Linked DNA regions of Homo sapiens: region 1 is linked to region 2. The links are contacts of gene promoters, found by promoter capture Hi-C in blood cells and fetal thymus (Javierre and others, 2016). All regions are on one chromosome and are shown on one strand. The core of a region is centred on a gene start or on the middle of the fragment in contact, and the rest is flanking DNA. Distances in the headings are between cores, read along the strand shown.

Region 1 (4,365 bases), core at 791-3,290, 280 kb after region 2:
TCTGTATCTGAAAAGCAATCAACCACCACAATCGATAGCCATGAAAACAATCTTCTCTCTTCCAGTCTCCTCCTCATCTCCTGCCATCTCTCCTCACCCTCACCACCCAAGCTTCCTGAGTGCATTCTCTTCACCCCCGGCTGGCCTCCAGCTTCCCTCTCCACCTAGGGGCACTGGGTTCTGGGTTCTCTTTTCACCCACGTGTTCTTCTTTCCTGAAATCACCCAGTTCTGTGGCTTCAGCTAACACTTCTACCTCTCCCTCTTTAGACCTCACTCTCAGGGTTCAAGACTACTTCTTTAAAAAAGTTTTCATTTATTAAAAAATATATAATACATACACTTGGTTCAAAATTCGAAAGGGTGCGGTAGCTCACACCTGTAATTCCAGCACTTTGGGAGGTCAAGGCAGGAGGATTGTTTGAGGCCAGGAGTTTGGGACCAGCCTAGACAACATAATGAGACCCCATCTCTACAAAAAATGCAATTAGCCAGGCATGGTGGCGTGTGCCTGTGGTCTTAGCTATTCAGGAGGCCTCCCAAAGTGCTGGGGTTACAGGCATGAGCCACTGTGCCCTGCCAGTCTTTCTAAAATACAAAACAAATCATCTCACTTCCTTTTCTAAGAACCTTCTGTGGCTCCCCATTGCCTACAGATAAAGTCGAGCTCCTTATTGGAGTAGAAAGGCCCTTGCCCGCTGCTCTTTGCTTGATGCCACCGCTGTGTCTCCATCGCCGTCACATACGTTTGTCCCTGTAGTGCTGTTTCCATCAAACGGCATTCCTGGATTCTGCCAGAATCCTTTTGAGGCCCTTGTCCCATATATCAGTAGGAGTCTCAACTGGGACCAAAAGCACATTCCAGTAATGTAACTGCCCAAGGGGTTCACCTTGCTTGCTGCCTAGACAGAGCCGATTCATCAAGACAGCAGAATTGCGATAGAGAAAGAATAATTCACACAGAGCCAGCTATGCAGGGGACCAGAGTTTTATTATCACTCGAATCAGTCTCCTCGAGCATTTGGGGGCAGAGTTTTTGAGGATAACTTGGTAGGTCGCGGGGGAAGCCAGTGAGCTGGGAGTGCTGATTGATCAGGGATGAAATCATCGGGAGTCGGAGCTGTCTTCTTGCGTTCAGTTGGTTCCTGGGTGGGGGCAGCAAGATCGGATGAACCAGTTTATTGATCTGGGCAGTGCCAGCTGATCCATCAAGTGCAAGGTCTGCAAAATATCTCAAGCACTGATTTTAGGAGCAGTTTAGGGAGGGTCAGAATCTTGTAGCCTCCAGCTGCATGACTCCTAAATCATAATTTCTCATCTTGTGGCTAACGTTAGTCCTACAAAGGCAATCTAGTCCCCAGGTAAGAAGGAGGTCTGCTTTGGGAAAGGGCTGTTACGATCTTTGTTTAAACTATAAACTATAAACTATAAACTAAGTGTCTCCCAAAGTTAGCTCAGCCTACACCCAGGAATGAACACGGACAGCTTGGAGGTTAGAAGCAAGATGGAATCAGTTAAGTTAGATCTCTTTCACTGTCTCAGTCATAATTTTGCAAAGGCGGTTTCAGTAAGATTTATTTACAAAGAGGGGGGTTTATTTATAAAGGGAGTAATTATAAAGCTGTGACAGGCCTAAGGGAGCCATCAGGGACTTTCCAAGCCCTGGGCAAGCAGGTCTGTTGCCACCCCTGGGTTTATGGGTTGAGGAGAGGGAGAGCTCACCAGGGTCTGGAGAGAGTCATGTGGAGCTGGCTTCCTTCTGAGGAACAGTTGGTCTTTTGTGAAGGACATAGCTGTCCCCAAACAACCTCAATGGGAGAACACCCGGACCTCACTGCCCTCCTCCCTCTAGTCTTCTGTTGAGCCCCCTCATCTGCCAAATCCAATGGGAATCCAGAGGGCAACAGAGTCCTGGTGATGGGGTCCCTGCAGGTTGACCTCCCAGGCCACAGAGCTGAGCGGCAATGGGTAGAAAGTGGATTTGGGGATGGGGCAGAAGGCAGAGGAGCACATTCCACATCACTTTATATGTGTGTGCCCTTCCCTTTTCTAGAATCTACTCCTTTTGTATATCTGGCAAATCCTTCCTTCCTTCCTTCCTTCCTTCCTCCTTTGCTTTCCTTTCCTTTCCTTTCCTTTCCTTTCCTTTCCTTTCCTTTCCTTTCCTTTTTTTCTTCCTTTCTTCCTTTTCTTCGAAGTCTTGCTCTGTGACCCAGGCTGGAGTGCAGTGGTGCGATCTCAGCTACTTTTTGTATTTTTAATAGAGATAGGGTTTCACCATGTCAGCCAGGCTGGTCTCAAACTCCTGATCTCAAGTGATCCACCTGCCTCAGCCTCCCAAAGTGCTGGGATTACAGGTGTGAGCCACCTCGCCCAGCTGGGCAAATTATTTCCTGTTCTTCAAGATTCAGTCAAACATCACCACATTCCCTGATTCCCTTGGGCAGAATTAACGAAAATTTTCCATACCACTTTGTCCTTGTTTATTTACTTATTTATTTATTTTTAAGAGACAGGGTCTTTCTCTGTGGCCCAGGCTGGAGTGCAATGGCGTGATCATAGCTCACTGAAGCCTCAACCTTTTGGGCTGAAGTGATCCCCCACCCTCAGCCTCCTGAGTAGCTGGGACTACAGGCATGTGCCAACATGCCTGACTAATTTTTAACGTGTGTGTGTGTATATATATATATATATATATATATATATATATATATATATATATGTTTTTAACGTGTGTATACATATATATATATACACACACGTTAAAAATTATATATATATTATACATAATTTATATATATATTTAACATCTATATTTTTTATAGAGACGGGGTCCTATATTCTCATTGTTCAGCAGAGGGCTGACATGCAAAAAAACCCAAAACACCAAGTGTCAAATTACTTGATTCATACTCTTTTCCCCTTCCCCAGGGTGTCCTCAAGAGGATAGTGACATTGCCTTCTTGATTGATGGCTCTGGTAGCATCATCCCACATGACTTTCGGCGGATGAAGGAGTTTGTCTCAACTGTGATGGAGCAATTAAAAAAGTCCAAAACCTTGGTGAGGGCCCAGGGGTAGGTTAGGGAAGAGCCCACACGGGGCTGGAAGATACATGGCAACCGGGCCACCATGTTCTCCTCCCAGTTCAACTGCAGACATTGCCAAATTGACGATCGATTATGGTTTGCCTTCCTGAGTCTCTTTTCTGCTCTGTTGGATGCAGCCTCAGCATTCTTTCAGCCTTTTATAAAGCGGGCAGCTCTAATTGTTAAGGTTGGCATGGGAGATGAAGCCCACGTGTCATTGCTGGCTGAGTTCTATTTTCATTTTTATTTCTTATTTTTTTGAGACAGAATCTCACTCTTTCTCTCAGGCTGGAGTGCAGTGGTGTGATCTTGGCTCACTGCAACCTCCGCCTCCCGGGTTCAAGCAATTCTCTTGCCTCAGCCTCCCGAGTAGCGGGGATTACAGGCGCATGCCACCATGCCTGGCTAGTTTTTGTATTTTTAGTAGAGACGGGGTTTCACCATTTTGGCCAGGCTGGTCTCAAACTCCTGACCTCAGGTGATCCACCCGCCTCGGCTTCCCAAAGTGCTGGGATTACAGGTGTGAGCCACTGCTCCCGGCCGCTGGCCGTGTTCTAGTATTGAGGAGAGATGGGAGCTGCTGGCAGCTCTCCGTCCTGGTGAGGCAGGGGATTAGGGGCAGCACAGAGGAGGAATTTGGAGAGTGGAGTGTTTAAGATCTTCGTGGAGCTTGCTGGGAGATGTCTGAGGGGTGGGGGCACCTTCTCCAGCATCACACCAGCCGCCCCCTCCGCAGTTCTCTTTGATGCAGTACTCTGAAGAATTCCGGATTCACTTTACCTTCAAAGAGTTCCAGAACAACCCTAACCCAAGATCACTGGTGAAGCCAATAACGCAGCTGCTTGGGCGGACACACACGGCCACGGGCATCCGCAAAGTGGTGTAAGCTTCCCCTTTTCCCTTAGGATGGAGGGAGGAGGAGACACTTTTAGCTGGGCTTTGATGGATGAAGGGAGCCGTTCAGACAGGGGTGGTAGAGGATGCTTCCCCACCGGCAGAGGTGGGGAGGCTGTGCGTGGTGTGTTCATCAAAGGACAAGTTGTGAGTGAAAGGTGGGAGTGGAGTGGGGAAGTGAGGGAAAGGTGTCTGGAGGGAAGCTACAAAGATCAGCTCAGGCCAGGGAGCCAAAGGCAGCTTTACAGCCTGTGGTGAGATATCGCCATGTCTCATTTTGGGAAGTTCACTCTGATTTTGAGGTGGGTGTAGAGGCAAGGATGGGGTTGGGACAGAAGTACAAGAAGCACTGGAGAGTCCTAGAGGGGCTGGGGAGCTGGTGCA
Region 2 (4,010 bases), core at 1,511-4,010:
GCCAAGATCGCGCCATTGCACTCCAGCCTGGGCGACAGAGCAAGACTCCGTCTCAAAAAAAAAAAAAAGAAAAGAAAAAACAGGGTCAGTGGCAGCGACGTGTGGCTGGAGGGAACAGAGAGCCCAGACCGCACGGGCTTGGGAGCCTGTGAATCCACTTGGGCCTGTGGTGAGAGAGGAGGAAAGTCCCGGAGCTTTCTTCAGGAGAGGGTCCTTCCGCAGGAGAGGGTCCTTCCGCAGGAGAGGGCCCCATGGCTAGTGAGCTCCATGTCTAGGCTGACACCAGTATCCAGGCAAAGGCAAGGGTGGCCCGACCCAAGCAGTGGCAGCAGAGGTGACAGAGAGGAGGCTTTGGGTGCAAGGTGGTTGGCTGGGCTCAGCAGTGAGAGGGTGAGGGGGACGGGAGGCCCTCTCTCGGTGCTGCTCTTAGCTGCTGGGAGTATGATGGGAGGGCCAGTGAGATGGGTGTGAGGAGGAAGAACAAATATATGGTCAAGATGAGCTCCAGTCTGGACATGTGGGGTTGCAATGCCCCAGGGACATCTAGGGGATGACGCCCAGCAGCTCCACTGAGGTGGCTTTTGGCTGGAAATGGAAGTTTGGGAGGAGTCCCCACCACATAGCTGGCGGCTGAGGCTCTGGAAGGGAGTGAGGTCACCCGAGGAGGGCGTGCAGAGGCTCCTCACTGTCTTCTGGGAAGTAAGGGTTGCTCCTCACACGGAGGTGCGGGGCCTGACATGGGCGGCCTGCCATTTGCATTAGCCGGTGGCAGCCAACAGGTGCCTGTTTTGGAGAGAGGTCCAGGGAGGAGAGATGAGCAGGGTGCCGTTGGTGACATGGCCAGTCATTTCAGGAGCTGCCCCAACCCCAGACTTGCCCCAGCAGTCCGGGACCCCACTGTGACCAGGCAGATGCTCGAAGGAGTCAGTGGCTCTCTTACCCAGTGCAGATTTCCCTGGAGTTCCCTGCGGGTGACTTAGAATGGCCACCAGAGGCTTAGGATGCTGCCCCAAAGAGGGAGGGCTCCTGGAAGCAGAGTCGAGAGAGTCAGTGCCGGGTTAGCGGGAGCTGGAGGCAGAGCTGCAGCTCCAGGCCTGGTGGGCGTGGACCTGGGGTGCTGGCTGGCAGGCGTGCTCAGGGGCAGGAAGTGGGGGACTCTTCCCTGACCATCGCATCTCACCCTGGCAGATGGTGGCCGACATGCGGGAGAAGCGCTACGTGCAGGAGGGCATTGGCAGCAGCTACCTGTTCCGGGTGGACCACGACACCATCATCGATGCCACCAAGTGTGGCAACCTGGCCAGATTCATCAACCACTGCTGCACGGTGCGCCAGGGGCCAGCCGGGGCAGGAGTTGGGGGTCGGTGGGGGTGGCCACGGCTCACACGCCCTTCCATCCGCAGCCTAACTGCTACGCCAAGGTCATCACCATCGAGTCCCAGAAGAAGATCGTGATCTACTCCAAGCAGCCCATTGGCGTGGACGAGGAGATCACCTACGACTACAAGTTCCCACTGGAAGACAACAAGATCCCGTGTCTGTGTGGCACAGAGAGCTGCCGGGGCTCCCTAAACTGAGGTGGGGCAGGATGGGTGCCCACACCCCTATTTATTCCCCCTGGTGCCCTGAGCTCCCAGCACCCCCCCAGCCTTAGTGGGCTCAGCAGGGCCCACATGCCCCCATCTCCAAGCGTGGGGTTGGGGGCCCCAAGCCCAGCGAGGGAGCCTCAGTCCCTGGAGGCAGCTTCTGCCTCTCCTGTCACCCCTGCCCACCACCCCCTGATTGTTTTTCTTTGCGGAGAAGAAGCTGTAAATGTTTTGTAGCAGCCAGCAGCTGTTTCCTGTGGAAACCTGGGGTGCCGGCCTGTACAGATTCTGTCCTGGGGGGCTACACAGTCCTCTTGCTTTGTGTTAATGGGGACTTCCCCTTACGCCCTGCGTGTACCCCTCCCCAGTTTAGGGGTCTCTGGGGCAGTGGCCATGTTCTCCCCCTGGGGGGGCTCTGCACCCCCAGTCCTGGGGACTCCGTGCCTGGAACCCTGCCTCATCTGTTCCTGCCAGACCCTGAGGGTCACCCTTCCACCCTGGTGTCACTCCCCGGCTCAGCCAGGCCAGGATGGCGGGGTGGGTCCCTTTTGCTGGGCTGGACTGTACATATGTTAATAGCGCAAACCCGACGCCACATTTTTATAATTGTGATTAAACTTTATTGTACAAAAGTGTTTGGTCGGTGTATTTGGGCAGGAGCGAGGGGTTGGGGGTAGAGGGCACGGAGGGTTGTGCAAGTTGAAGAGAGGGAAAAGTGGGTACCTGAAGTGTGGGGCAGGTAAAGGGGCCTTCAGGCAAGAGCCCAGACCTGCAGAGACAGTCCGAGACTGTCTCGGACCCCCTGACAGGCTGCAGCAGCCGCACCCGCACCAGGAATACCCCACCAGTGCCCGCCAGGGTGGTGCCAAGGTCAGGCCTCCCCTTCCTACAATCACAGCTGCAGCTGGACCTCCGGCCTCCTGGGAAGCCCAGCAGGAGGGAAGGCCTGAGGTCACACTGTGGGATGAGGTCACCGCTGGCTCCACCCACAGCCCCAGACCCCTTCAGCCCACTCTGCAAGTTCGAGCTTCATCCCCACCAAGTTCTCCGCTGGACCCAGATGCCAGTGGAGCACAGAGCGGCCGCCAGGGGGCGCCTTGGGGCAAGAGTGGTGGGGGTTGTGGCTGGGCGGGTCTCTGTTCCTGGAATGGGGCAGGAGGGAGAAGGAGGAGCCAGCGGAAGGACGGTGTGCGGGCCGGCCAGCCCTGGACGAAAGAAGAGGGCCCCTCCAGGCCAGTCTGGGCACCCTGGGATAGCGGCTGCAGGTAGGCAGAGGCGCTGCCAGTGCCCAGGTGGCCTTTCCCTCCATCCGGCCCTTCCCACCTTCCTATAACCTTCCCTCCACCTCCCTCAACTCCTGGCCTCCCCACCCTTTTACTGCCTTCAAATCTCTCTCCCTAAACCCTGACCCCTTCCTGCACCCCAAGCCCGCCCCTCTCTCCGTAACTCAGCCATCAGCAGGGGCAGACGGCAGGTGGCCTGGTTGCTGCAGCTCCCAGGATCAGCTCTGCCCTCCCCGCAAACGCCAGCCTCGTCACCGCTCCAGGGCACCTCCAGCAGTAACAGGTGGTTGCAGCAGGTGGCAGCCAGCCCCTGGATGAGCCAAGGTCTCTTCCCCAGCCAGGCATGGCCGACTCTGCACAGGCCCAGAAGCTGGTGTACCTGGTCACAGGGGGCTGTGGCTTCCTGGGAGAGCACGTGGTGCGAATGCTGCTGCAGCGGGAGCCCCGGCTCGGGGAGCTGCGGGTCTTTGACCAACACCTGGGTCCCTGGCTGGAGGAGCTGAAGACAGGTTCTTGTTGGGGGAGCTTGTGGTGGAGAGGGTGTGGACGCTTCCCCAACCCTTCCCAAGCTGGGATCCCCACCCCTGCAGTGGAACAGATGATGCTGGTTTCTGTCCACATGGATGGGTCGAGTGAGTCACATTGGGAACGTGACTCCAGGGTGGAAGATGAACCCAGCCTCTGGCCTCTGGCCCCAGCTCTGACATGGCCTGTGTCCTCCAACCCCGGCCAGGGCCTGTGAGGGTGACTGCCATCCAGGGGGACGTGACCCAGGCCCATGAGGTGGCAGCAGCTGTGGCCGGAGCCCATGTGGTCATCCACACGGCTGGGCTGGTAGACGTGTTTGGCAGGGCCAGTCCCAAGACCATCCATGAGGTCAACGTGCAGGGTGAGGAGCTCTGGACACTCCTGGCCATCTTGCCTGTTTGTTCCCCACTCTGTCTTTGGCCTTGACCTCCGGTGACTCCCCTGGGACAAGTTGTCCTATTGACAGCCCTGCCCCCGCCTCCCCTGACCTGTCATGGTTTTCCCTGGACCTGGGATGGGGAGGAGGAAGATGCAGAGAGGGAAGAAGCTGCAGCTTGGATACGCCTCCTCCTCTGCCAGGTACCCGGAACGTGATCGAGGCTTGTGTGCAGAC

The links. The method cuts DNA at HindIII sites, captures the fragments that hold promoters and counts their contacts. A CHiCAGO score of 5 or more calls a contact.
Region 1: a contact is called between a fragment that was not itself captured here and the fragment with the promoter of HSD3B7 in region 2, in 1 of 17 cell types (neutrophils). The highest score is 6.2, in neutrophils.

What each region holds. Positions count from the first base shown.
Region 1 is chr16:31,268,024-31,272,388 of GRCh38, forward strand. ITGAM (integrin subunit alpha M) reads left to right here. Exons shown (of 30, transcript NM_000632.4): 6 at 2,931-3,061; 7 at 3,824-3,969. Among named protein-coding and RNA genes, the nearest start is that of ITGAM, 10 kb to the left of the region's middle. RefSeq lists enhancers at 3,259-3,784, 3,785-4,310. The HindIII fragment of the contact is 3,863 bases long and covers 110-3,972 here.
Region 2 is chr16:30,982,447-30,986,456 of GRCh38, forward strand. HSD3B7 (hydroxy-delta-5-steroid dehydrogenase, 3 beta- and steroid delta-isomerase 7) reads left to right here and starts at 2,761. Exons shown (of 7, transcript NM_025193.4): 1 at 2,761-2,851; 2 at 3,207-3,378; 3 at 3,603-3,758; 4 at 3,977-4,010. The coding sequence starts at 3,213. It overlaps SETD1A (SET domain containing 1A, histone lysine methyltransferase), which reads left to right. Exons shown (of 19, transcript NM_014712.3): 18 at 1,189-1,326; 19 at 1,404-2,218. The coding sequence ends at 1,577. RefSeq lists an enhancer at 2,230-2,742. The HindIII fragment of the contact is 29,451 bases long and covers 1-4,010 here.